Linked DNA regions of Homo sapiens: regions 1 and 3 are each linked to region 2. The links are contacts of gene promoters, found by promoter capture Hi-C in blood cells and fetal thymus (Javierre and others, 2016). All regions are on one chromosome and are shown on one strand. Each heading gives the region's core, a stretch centred on a gene start or on the middle of the fragment in contact. The rest is flanking DNA. Distances are from core to core; before and after follow the strand shown. Region 1 overlaps CARMAL (coronary artery disease region linked MFGE8 regulatory lncRNA). Region 2 holds the start of FANCI (FA complementation group I). Region 3 holds the start of CARMAL (coronary artery disease region linked MFGE8 regulatory lncRNA).

The links. Contacts are between HindIII fragments. The CHiCAGO score rates a contact against its expected background, and 5 or more counts as called.
Region 1: a fragment that was not itself captured here is called in contact with the fragment with the promoter of FANCI in region 2 in 5 of 17 cell types (erythroblasts, neutrophils, megakaryocytes and 2 more); the score reaches 7.0 in erythroblasts.
Region 3: a contact is called between a fragment that was not itself captured here and the fragment with the promoter of FANCI in region 2, in 1 of 17 cell types (neutrophils). The highest score is 5.5, in neutrophils.

Annotation. Positions count from the first base shown.
Region 1 is chr15:89,054,995-89,059,164 of GRCh38, forward strand. All of the region lies in intron 1 of CARMAL (coronary artery disease region linked MFGE8 regulatory lncRNA), which reads left to right. It also overlaps a transcript of ABHD2 not described here. Among named protein-coding and RNA genes, the nearest start is that of CARMAL, 16 kb to the left of the region's middle. The HindIII fragment of the contact is 778 bases long and covers 2,522-3,299 here.
Region 2 is chr15:89,241,359-89,245,396 of GRCh38, forward strand. It overlaps FANCI (FA complementation group I), which reads left to right and starts at 2,621. Exons shown (of 38, transcript NM_001113378.2): 1 at 2,621-2,675. RefSeq lists an enhancer at 2,824-3,203. The HindIII fragment of the contact is 10,185 bases long and covers 1-4,038 here.
Region 3 is chr15:89,037,217-89,041,328 of GRCh38, forward strand. CARMAL (coronary artery disease region linked MFGE8 regulatory lncRNA) reads left to right here and starts at 3,782. Exons shown (of 4, transcript NR_183882.1): 1 at 3,782-4,084. It also overlaps a transcript of ABHD2 not described here. The HindIII fragment of the contact is 2,351 bases long and covers 1,418-3,768 here.

The DNA.
Region 1 (4,170 bases), core at 1,661-4,160, 190 kb before region 2:
GTTGGAGGATCACTTGAGGCCCGGAGTCCAAGACCAGCCTCGGCAACCTAGCAAGACCCCATCTCTATGGCGCACACTTGCAGTTCCAGCTATTCTAGAGGCTGAGGCAAGGAGGATCACTTGAGCCCAGGAGTTCAAGACTGCAGTGAGCCATGATTGCGCCACTGTACTTCAACCTGAGTGATGAATTGAAACCCAGTCCAAAAAACTTTTTTTTTAAATCTCCTATTGTTGGTAATTTAGTTTGTGTCCAGTTTTAAAGTGTCTATCTTTTGATTTAACTATCCTACTTTTAGGACTATCTCCCACAAAAGTAAAACACTAGTTTCTTTTTTTTTTTTTTTTTTTTGAGACAAGGTTTCATTTCTGTTGCTCAGGCTGGAGTGCAGTGGCACGATCTCATCTCACTGCAACCTCTGCCTCCTGGACTCAAGCGATCCTCTCTCTCCTGCCTCAGCCTCTTGAGTAGCTGGGACTATAGGCGAATGCCATCATGCTCAGCTAATTTTAAGTATTTTTTTGTAGAGATGAGATTTCACCATGTTGCCCAAGCTGGTCTTGAACTCTGGACCACAAGCGATCCGCTGGCCTCGGCCTCCCAAAGTGCTGGGATTACAGCCTACTAGTTTATAATATTTACAGAGATGTTTATCACAATATTATTGATAATAGCAAAAATCACTAGAAACACCCTGGATGTCTACCAATATGGGGGCGGTTGAATAATCCATAGCATATTCTATACTATGAAATATTGAACTGCTATTAAGAGTGAGATGAAGTGAGATGAATCAATATTACTTGTCAAAATGATCATGATATGTGGCTAAGGGAAAATGTAGTTTACAAACTAATTGTGTAATGTGATTTTTGCTTTTTTGTTTTTACAGACTGGGTCTCACTCTGTCATCCAGGCTGGAGTGCAGTGGCGTGATCACGGCTCACTGCAGTCTTGACCTCCCGGGCTCACACAATCCTCCTGCCTCAGCCTCCTGAGTAGCTGGAGTCACCATGCCCAGCTAATTTTTAAAAATATTTTGTAGAGACAGAGTCTGCCTATGTTGCACAGGCTGGTCTCAAACTCCTGGCCTCAAGCAATCCTCTGACCACAGACTCCCAAAGTGCTGGGATTACAGATGTGAGCTGCCACGCCTAGCCTGATTTTTGCTTTTAATTAAAATTTTGTAAATGGAGGTGGGAATCCCTCTACGAATTTTTAATTTGTAACTATTCGTATCTTCCTAGGGAAAATAATAGGAAAAAAACTCACAAAACTGTTAATATTGCTCACCTCAGGAGATGGCATTGGAGATATTTGCTTAGTTACAAGAATATGTATGGATTTTGCAACTTGAATGACACAGTAAGAAAGAACACCATGCCCCAGTGCAGGATTGTGGCAGGAATTTGAATCTTTAATTCCTTCAGGCACCGGGCACAGATCGAGACCATCCTGGCTAACACGGTGAAACCCCGTCTCTACTAAAAATACAAAAAAATTAGCCAGGCATGGTGGCAGGTGCCTGTGGTCCCAGCTACTCAGGAGGCTGAGGCAGGAGAATGACGTGAACCCGGGAGGTGGAATTTGCAGTGAGCCGAGTTCGCACCACTGCACTCCAGCCTGGGCGACAGAGCAAGACTCCATCTCAAAAAAATAAAATAAAAAAATAAAATTCCTTCAGGGTGCTTGCAAAAGATAGAACAGTGCAATGAAAAAAATCAGACCCAGCAGCACTACTTATTACAACATGACCTTGAGTGAGTCATTCACCTCACTGGGCCTCAGTTTTCTTGTCTGTAAAATGGGACAATAGCAATCTCTACCTGTCAGAGTTTGTGTGCAGGCAGTCAGGAAATATAGTCAGTAGGCATTAAATTTTTTTCACACTGTTAATCCAGTTTATAAGTGATACCTTTTTTTTTTTTTTTTTTTTTTGAGATGGAGTTTTGCGCTTGTTGCCCAAGCTGGAGTGCAATGGCGCCATCTCGGCTCACTGCAATCTCCGCCTCCCGGGTTCAAGCGATTCTCCTGCCTCAGCCTCCTGAGTAGCTGGGATTACAGGCACACGCCACCACGCCCGGCTAATTTTTTGTATTTTTAGTAGAAATGGGGTTTCACCGTGTTAGCAGGCTGGTCTTGAACTCCTGACCTCAGGTGATCCGCCTGCGTCAGCCTCCCAAAGTGCTGGGATTACAAGCATGAGCCACTGCGCTAGGCCAGCGTGATACCATTTTTAAAAGTGTTAAGTGAAAAGGGTAAAGGATCTATTGAAGCCCCTTTGTAAGCATGTGAGTTCTGCTTGAGAAGCCACCCCCGGGTTAGCTCTTCTAAGCTGCTCATAGCTAATTCCCTTCCTTCATCTCCACTTCCCTTTGGGGTTTGGCGCAGTGATGATGGGGTTTCTGAAGATGAGGTAGGGCAGGGGTTACACAGTGACCACTGGGAAGTTGGGGACTGGCCGCCTCTGGAACTCCAAGGATTGATTTTCATGGTTAGCAAACAGCTGAGAGTTCTTTGGGAAGCTTCAATGGTGAAAATGCTATTTTTGGTAAGAGGGTAAGAATACAGCCCCTTCTTGTTTAGCCATGGTCGTGGAATCACGGTGGGGGCGTGCCTGGTGCATGGGCTCCTGAGAGGCAGGCCCCGTTGGGCTCACCCCCATTCCTGCTGCCATTCCCTCCATGGCCTCAGGGTGGCGCTGCTCCCTCTCCAACTGGGGCCATCTATTGCCACCATGCGGCTTCCCAGTGAAACCCGCTATTAATAAGAAGGAATGAAAAAAAAAAAAGAAAGAAACAAACCTGCCAGAACTTTCCAATCACACTGTCCTAAAAGCTGAGGACTAAGAAAACGAAGATAGATTCAGGGGACACCGTGAGTCAAAACTTTAGTTTGCCAGGTCTGACTTCTTTCCTGCAGCTCTTCGCCCTCTACCCAGTCCATCAGGGACCCCAGGACTAGGACTCCCTAGCTCCCCACTTACAAATTAAGCCCACCAACATTTGTGGGGCGCCAGGCAAGAGAACGAATGGAAGCTCACATACTCTATGTCTGCATATTTTCAAGTTGTTCAGTCAAGCTGATAAACCCTTAAATGAAGTATGCTCCATCCTTCCGCCTTGAGGTAGATACCTTCATAACCACCTAAAAGACCAGGTTGACTTTTAGGATTTTCAGCCTCCTTGGAGATCCATTCCCCTGGCTCTCCACTTCTGGCCCCAGGTCCACCCACCCACGCTCATCCTTTCAGATCGTGAGGAGCCTCACATACGTGTGGATACTCCAGCTCACACATCCAAGCTTCCTCCACACCCACACCCCTTACAACCCTGAAAACAGCTACCCCTTGGCCACTCCTAGTACCTAGCATGTGAACACAGGTAGTGAGGTCCACTCTTGGGAAGAGAGACCTAGAGAAAATGAAGATGCCCCGCAGGCACAGAAGAGGGCTTGCTGTAATTTGGACAGAAACTCTGGGGTCCTGGTACACGGAGCCTAGTCTTGGGTGGGTGTATGGACTCCCTTTGTAGAAAGGAACATGGCCCGAGGAGGTGCACAGCAGGAGCTTCTCCTGCTCTGGGCCCAGGGGATGGGGACAAGGAGAGATGACATCCTTAACTCCCTCCATCCCTCAGGAGTGCCCCTGGACATCGAGACTCCTGGAAATCTGGGTTGTGACAGGCCAAGTCCCTTCTTAATTCCTCTTTCCTGCTGTGGAGCCCCCTCATGTCCAATGATTGGCAGCAGGAAAGACCTCACTCTTCAGACAAGACCATAGTATCTGCCCTTGAAGCCTTTCTCTTTCAGCCCTCAACAATATCTCAATAAAAACAGCAATCCAACGTTGGACAGAAGCCTGCAGTAATGGGTGGTGGCGCAGAAGCCATCCTTTCAAGGGCACAGAGTGCCATTTCTCTCTCAAGGGATGGATAATTCCTGCCTTAATGCAACCTTCATCTGCCTAGTCACCAGCTGATGGGAAAGCAGCTCCAGCGAAAGATAAGGGCTCTTTGCCTGAAATGAAAAATTCATGAAGGAAGACTAGGAATGGGGCACGCAGAGAGCTGCCAAGTTGCTGTGCTCTGAGGACCTGACAAGAAGCTCAAAAAGCCAAATGGAAATTTTCTCTCCTCTCCAGCATCTCCCATCATGCCCTCTTCCATGTTTGG
Region 2 (4,038 bases), core at 1,371-3,870:
GTTGGCTAGGATGGTCTCAATCTGCTGACCCGTGATCTGCCCGCCTCGGCCTCCCAAAGTGTTGGGATTACAGGTGTGAGCCACCGCACCCAGTCGTATGTCCCACATTTTATCCATTCATACAGTGAGGGACATTTGTGTTATTTCTACCTTTTGATTATTGTAAATAGTACTACTGTGAACACAGATATACAAATATCTCTCTGAGATCCTGCTTTCAATACTTTTCAAAAGTTATTTGCTGGAAGGAAATAACACTTTCATGTGCTTCTAAGTTTGGCTCTTTATATGTGTTACCTTGATCATTCTCTCAAGCAGCACTGCCCTTAATCCCAAGCAACTGGAGCTCTTGGGCGGGGTGGGGGCCTTATTGGTCTTCCTCTGCCCAGAGTCCAGAGGATGTGCCCACCCACCTTCCTTTAGATCATGCTCTAGGTACCTACTTAACCATCCTCAAATTTGCTTCCAGGGCCCAGATAGGCCTTTTCCTAGGTCCACCCTTCCTAGAGTGGACCTGCTAGTATGTACAGCCCTAGACCCAAAGGGTGGCTACAGGGCAGCTTTGTGGGGGACTCATGGTGTGGATCTTCAGGCTGGGTGTCCACATGCAGGCATAGGAAGCCTGAGACCTCACACTGTAGGACTGAGTTGGGAATGGTAAGGGGCTTCCATTTGTACTTTTTCTCTGGACTCCTGTAAATATTAGTAGCTATAATGTTGTTAAGATAAACAAGTACTATTGACAAGGTCTGAAGAACATTTAGTTCCATTACTGTAAACCTGTTTTTAACTGGATGTATTTTCTAGAATCAGTGTATCACTAGCTTCTCAGTGTATAGTGTCTAGTCAGTGAACCAGACGGATAAGATTTGCTCCTTAGTTAAGGAAGCCTGCACCAGGGTGAAAAACCGTTGTTGTTAATCTGAATGAATCTGTTCTTCTCTTCTTTTGCATATGTAACACTTATTAATGCAAATGGAAAACACAGATGATGCATTCGTGCAACAAGAGGAGACAAGAACCCTGAGGCATCAATGCCAGTGGGTAGACACACAGGCAATTCAGTAAGTACGTCTGGGATGCGCCAGTGGAGGCTCGGAGAGGCTAATGAGCTTGTTCTAGCTACCCAGACCCACAGATTCATGGCTGAATCCCAGAAGCAGCCTGGGAGATTTTGTGGGGAGATGAGGCAAAGTCATCTACTTCCTTGGCAAGGTAAAGGATTCCTTTCAGGAATCATCTTCTACCTCAAGCTGCCGTGTTTTAGTTAAACATCACAGCTCAGTATTGGGACAGAAATGTAGAAGGAAAAAAATGCTGAAGGGTCACAAGCAAGGAGCAGGTCTAGACAGCTGAGAGGAACCATTCTCCTCCAATAGCTCTGTTTCTTCAATAACTGGCCATGTAGACCCGTTCTACCCCCGAGGGCTGGGAGTCGAGTCAGGTTCCAGACTGAAATGCTCCCTGATCTTAGCATTCCTTCACTTGCCATCCCACAGGCACCTCAAATTTGGTGCGTCCAACTCTGAAGGGCTCATCATCACCCCATCATCCTTTTCCTGTGCTCCCTGTGTTAGTCAACTGCAGGATTAACTCCCCGCCCCCCAACCCCAGTCGCTCAAGCCTGAACATTCCTCAACAACGCCCACACCCCCTCAAATCCGGATATTTGGGCTTCCTAAATCTCTACCTCCTAATCTCTTTCACATGCGGTCCACTCCTTTCTGTCCCCATTGCCAAGGTTGGGCCACCACCACCTATCTTTGGGACAACTTACAGTCTTCTAAGGGGGGTCCTGCCTTCGGTCCGCCCCACCTGGCTCATCTCTTTTCAACAGTTTCTGCGGTCCTCACCTGCCCGAGACAGCAGTCTACAATGCGAACACAGTCATGTCCTTCCCCTTCAGCGGTTCCCCACTGCCCCCAATATGAAAAGGAGTTAGAAACCCCTGCCTTCCCACTCCCACCGAGCACCTTCGCCTTCTGAACTGGCCAGGGGCTCTGTTGCTTGCTCGTTGCTCTCAGACCCTTTGCGCAAGGTGCTCCCTCAACCCAAAATAGAATCTCGGCCCACCCTCTGTCGGTCTTCGCCCCACTGTCAGTTGTTCATTTAACAAATATTCGCTGCTTTTGCCAGGCTATGCAATAAACGCTGGGGTTACGCAAGGGGAGCGCAAAACAAAACAAAACAGAGAACAAACAAAAACCACAACTCCCAAAAGTCCATTAAGACCCCTAGCCACAGGGGGCTTACATCTGAGGGGTTACCGTCCCTTGGCACAAGGTGGAGTATGAAATCCGCCTCTGCCTTCCAGGCTTTTCCAGTGCCAAGACCTGCGGGGCCACCAATTGTGAGTCCCCTCCCGCACTGACTACTCCCTCAACAGGACAGGAGGGAAGCTGAACCTGTCGGGACACCGCGCTGGGCACGCTCAGGTCCCACCGCGCGTGCTCATCGGCGGTCCCTAGCGCGAGTTCGGACAGGCAGCGCCCCCCTCCGACTGTGAGCTGGGACGCTCCCGCACGCTTCCCGGCACCCCTTCAGTCTTCATGGTACACCCCGCCCGCAGGTACCCGGACGGCGGAAGTGAGCCGCGGGGGCGGATCTTGTTGTTACGGGTAACGGAAGTGTGGCGGCGTTGGGTTGAGCGGGCTTTTTGGAAGTTTGTGGCGGAGGTGAGGCCGAGGTGACTGCAGAGCGGCTCGCGAGGTGCTCGGGCTGTGGGACTGGGCCCCTGGGAGGGAGCGGTTCTGTGGGGGAAAGGAGGCTCCTGTCCTGACTTGGCGTTCTGGTATTTTCTCTGGCGTGGAAAGTAGGCGCGCTCCGCTGTCTCCCGCCGCCTGCCTCAGCTTTCGCGGTTCCCTCCTAGGGGTGTGCCTCAGTCGGAGCCCCTTCTGTTAAATTCTTCCCCCTTGGCCGAGGGTGAGCTCTTACTTCTGAGAAATTTCCCTTAACCTTGCTTTGCATTTGTTGTCCGGTCGCGGTCTCCATCACCAGCTGCTTCGTGTTATAGTTTTTGTATTTGCGCTCACGGCTTGTTAACTGAAGAACCCGGAAGGGAAGGCCGCGGCGTTTCCCGCCGGCGGGGCTCTGCCATTCTCGGATCTTGGCTTCAGATCTCTGATGCTCCCCAGCGTCTCTTGGCAAGGAATCTACTTCGCGTTCAGGGAATTCACAGCCACCCGCCTCTGGTCTTACCTCTGGTTTTAGGATGATTTTAGCAAATGTGCCTAGGTTGATTTAAACGTATCCCCCTCCGAAGCCGCCTGCCCCTTCTGGCTGGACACCTTTTTAGGTTGGTGTGTCCTGTTTGCATCCGGTAGTTCAAAGCATGGGATCTTGGAGTCCGGAGCTGGACAGACTCGGGTTTCACTTCTCTCTCTGCCACTTGGTAGCCTTCTAATCTTGGGGGAAATTCCCTAATCTCTGAATCCCAAAAGTTGTTCATCTAAAATGGGGCTAATATTACACCTACCTAGTAGGTGGTGTTGTGGGAGTCATGTTAATGAATGTAAAGTGCTGGGTTCAGTGTTTTCCCTATTATAGGGGTTCAATAATTTGTTCAACAAACATTTGTTACCTAGTTTGAGCTAGGTACTGTGCTAAGTGCTGGAGATACAATGATAAACAAAACCAGCTACGGCCCGTGTCCTTAGGGGACTTATAGTCTAGTGGGAGATAACATTTGTTAATCTGATAATTACACATGTAATATTAAAAATTGGTGACAGTATGTAAGAGAGTTTACTGGTGCCATGAGAGGATGTACTAGGGGAACGTTTAACAACCTATACTGAGCTTTTCTTTTCTTTTCTTTTCTTTTTTTTTTGAGACAGAGTCTCCCTCTGTTGCCAGGCTGGAGTGCAGTGGCGCGATCTCGGCTCACTGCAACCTCCGCCTCCTGAGTTCAAGTGATTCTCCTGCCTCAGCCTCACAAGTAGCTGGGACTACAGGTGCGTGCCGTCACGCCCAGCTATTTTTTTTTTTTTTTTTTTTTTTTTTTTTTTTTTTTGTATTTTTAGTAGAGACGGGGTTTCA
Region 3 (4,112 bases), core at 1,343-3,842, 200 kb before region 2:
TTTCTAGAGATATCTTGTGCCTATAAAAGCATATACATAAAAGTATTATTTTTCTCTCAGCCGGGCACAGTGGCTCATGCATGTAATCCCAGCACTTTGGGAGGCCGAGGCAGGCGGATCACCTGAGGTCAGGAGTTCGAGACCAGCCTAACATGGTGAAACCCCATCTCTACTAAAAATACAAAAATTAGCCGGGCATAGTGGTGGGCACCTGTAATCCCAGCTACTCAGGAGGCTGAGGCAGGAGAATCACTTGAACTCGGGAGGCAGAGGTTGCACTGAGCCAAGATTGCGCCATTGCACTCCAACCTGGGCGACAGAGCGAGACTCCGTCTCAAAAAAAAAAGAGAGAAAAAGGATTATTTTTCTCTCAAGTTTATTTGTTTGGAAAACAATAATTTATTGCTCTTCCTTCCAAGTCTTTGTGAATTTACAGAAAAAAAACAAAAACAAAAACAAAAAAACAAAAAGATCAACGTTTACAGACTGTTCAGTTCAGACTAAGAATGCCAGAGATGAGTACCTGTACTGCCGTGGCTGCCGGCTACATGGCACCAATGTTCCCCAGCAGATATGCGCTAAAGTTTAAAACAAGCCCCCTCCAGATTTGTATTATCACCTTCAGAAAGGCTGTATTCCTCACACTGCATCTCACACGACATACTCAGGTCGTTAGTCACATCTGAAAATAAACTGGCCAATAAATGTGTTTCCTTCTGTGCATCTACTTTCCACGAGGCTTCATATTCAATCCACCACCTTTTTAGCCACATTTTCTCTTCTGCTGTTTGTGCTAGAAGTTGTTGCTGTTGGGCTTCTCTGTGTTTTGCCATAAATTGGAGCAAGTTCCAAGCACCAACTACCTTCCTCTTCTCATTTTCTGCTGCTTTTGCAAGTTGGTCCACAGGCTCAATTAAACCACCAACTATTTCTGAAATGGACTGATTTTGCCCACAAAATCCATGCAGTCTTCCTTGGGGTCCCTGGTCTGCTACGTAACCTCAGGGTCCCGCACCCAGGCTTGCTCAGCTCATCAAAACACAGTCCTGCTTCACCCAGGCTGTCCTGGCCTGTTTCCCTTCCAGCTTCCCCGCAGAAGAGTGATTCTGCTCTGCAGGGTGACAGTGGCGGCCAGAGGAGGTGTGTCATCGGAAAGAAAAAAGTCTGCTTGATTGTCACAGGGACCGTTCACTTAACACGTATTTCTCGAGTGTGTGAGCATCTAGTCAATGCTGCTAGATGCCAGAGAGGCAAAGATGACTGCACTTGGTCCTAGCCCCTTGGAGCACCTTGTCTGGCACTGGCCCCACTGCTGCAGCCCTGGCTGAGGTCAGCAGGCTGCTCTCCCTCAAGTCAGTGGCCACCAGAGCCTTACCTGCCAGCCCTGTCTGCCACCATGGCTGCTGGGCCTCCCTCAAGCTTATTTTTGATGTCTATATTGTGGGTCAAATTATAAGAGGCTTTAAAAGGATGAGTGTAAATGGAGGTGTCTGTCCCCTAATGGGTGCCCAGAGGAATTTTTCCATGTCAGGTAAGGATACCTTTTTTTCTGAGGCAGGGTCTCACTCTGTCTCCCAGGCTGGAGTGCAAAGGGCGATCACAGCTCACTGCAGCCTCGACCTCCCAGGCTCAAGCAATCCTCCCACCTTTGCTTCCTGAGTAGCTGGGACTACAGGTGCTTGCCATCACAGCCAGCTAATTTTTTTTTTTTTTTTTTGTATGTTTTTGTAGAGATGGGATTTCACCATGTTGCCCAGGCTGGTCTTAAACTCAGCTCAAGCTATCTGGCCCCCTCTGCCTCCCAAAGTGCTGGGATTACAGGCGTGAGCCACTGCGCCTGCCCACCCGCCCCCCACCCCCCGACTTCTTTCTTTTTAAACATTTTTGTAAACTTCTCTCTTTTTAAACATGCACACTCACTCCACCCAAGCCTCTGAAGACAGAATTCTTGACCCTATTGCACTTACGATCTAATAGAAGAGACACAGATATAATATATTATGGTTTGATATGTTCACTGCTAGAAGTTTATGCCAAGTGCTGCTAGAACATAAATAATGGAGCAGTTCATCTTTCCTGGGGATAGGAGCCAGAGCCACAGTGAGCGCTGTTGACTGGGGTCTTAAAATTAAGCTGCATATGCCAAGCAGGGAAAGCGGGAAAGAGCATTGCCAGCAAAGGGAGCAGTATGATCAAAATTCCAAAGCAGTGCGTGCCAAAGGGCGTGTCATGAGCTGGAAAAGGTATGGTAGCACTGGTCAAGATTGCAATTTCAGTGTTCTTTTTTTTTTTTTAATTGAGACAGAGTCTCACTCTGTCACCCAGGCTGGAGTGCAGTGGCGCGATCTCAGCTCGCTGCAACTTCCACCTCCTGGGTTCAAGCAGTTTTCCTGCCTCAGCCTCCGGAGTAGCTGGGATTACAGGCACCCGCCACCACACCCAGCTGATTTTTGTATTTTTAGTAGAGACGGGGTTTCACCGTGTTGGCCAGGCTGGTCTCGAACTCCTGACCTCAAGTGATCCTCTCATCTTGGCCTCCAAAAGTGCTGGGATTACAGGCATGAGTCATGGCACCCGGCCAGTTTCAGGGTTTGTTTGAAATGATCACTTAATGAGTAACTGTCTCCCCTACTAGACTGTAAACTCTATGAGGGCCGGGGCTGGGTCTGTGTTCAACCACACTATGCCCCAGTGCTGAGCATGTCATGGCATTCAAATAAATATCCGTTGGATGGATGAATGGATGGAAGAAAGGAGGGATGAAATTTTTTAATTAAGAGATGTGTGCCAATTTTGGCAAATTTGTCAAAAATTTTGAAGAAAGTTTTTCTCAGTGAATATGAATATATTCCACTTGTGAATCTATTCACAGACTATGGGCTTGCTGGAACCTAAGAGTCATCGAGTAGTTTAGACTTCTTATCAATAGATTTTTATTTATATTCATAAGAGTATATTCTTGAATATATTTACTAATGCATTCATTAACAGTATATATTCGTATTCATTGAAAACATTAAAGAAAAAATTCTTTAGAATGGACAAATCAGAATATTTCACTTTTTTTTTTTTTTTTTTTTTGAGGCAGAGTCTGGCTCTGTTGCCGGGCTGGAGTGCAGTGGCACGATCTTGGCTCACTACAACCTCTGCCTCCTGGATTCAAGCGATTCTCCTGCCTCAGCCTCCCAAGAAGCTGGGACTACAGGTGCGTGCCACCACACCCAGATAATTTTTGTATTTTTAGGAGAGGCGGGGTTTCACCATGTTGGTCAGGGTGGTCTTGATCTCTTGACCTTGTGATCCGCCCGCCTTGGCCTCCCAAAGTGTTGGGATTACAGGCGTGAGACACAGTGCCCAGCCTAGAATATTTCATAAATGTAGCAAATTGGCTTTAGGGAACTTTTTCTGCTTCCAGCATTCAGCAGCTATTTGAAGGGTTTTGGAAGCAAAGGAATGGAGGGAGACAGGACGGCACCCTGAGGGAGACGCAGGGCTGAACGGAGCTGTTCGGGGATAGCTGTGGCTTGAGTGGGTCTGTTGGCTGAAAGGAGGGATTCGTTGAAGAAGGAGCAATGGACGAGGTGAGAGAGAGGATACTGGATGGAACCAGGTTTCAGAGGAGGCTGATGGGAGAATGTGAGGAGCACCAAAGCGAGCCTTAGGAAAAAGAAGTTCAGACAGACAGACACTTCGGTAAACCACAGCTCCCAGTATTCACCACTGTGTGTAGTCTCCTCCCACACTGACTCTGGGCTTGGTCAGCTGACAAGCTTTGGCCAATAGGGCTCTAGCAAGAAGATGCCAGCAGAGGCTTGAAAAGTGCCTACCCCTGGCCTGGGATGCTTCCTCCTGGGATGCTCCCACTTGGAACCCAACTATTGTGCTGCAGAAGTTTAACTTAACTGTGTAAGGAGGCCAAGAGGAGGCCCTGGCTGCCAGCCAGCATCAACTTCCAGTGACGTGAGTGTGCCATTCTGGAACTGGATCCTGCAGCCTCGGTGGAGCAGCCTCAGCTGATGCCATGTGGAACAGAGATGAACTGCCGCTGCCGAGCTCTGCCCACGTTGCAGAATCATGAGCAAATGTGAGTTTTGTGGTTTTAAGCCACGAAG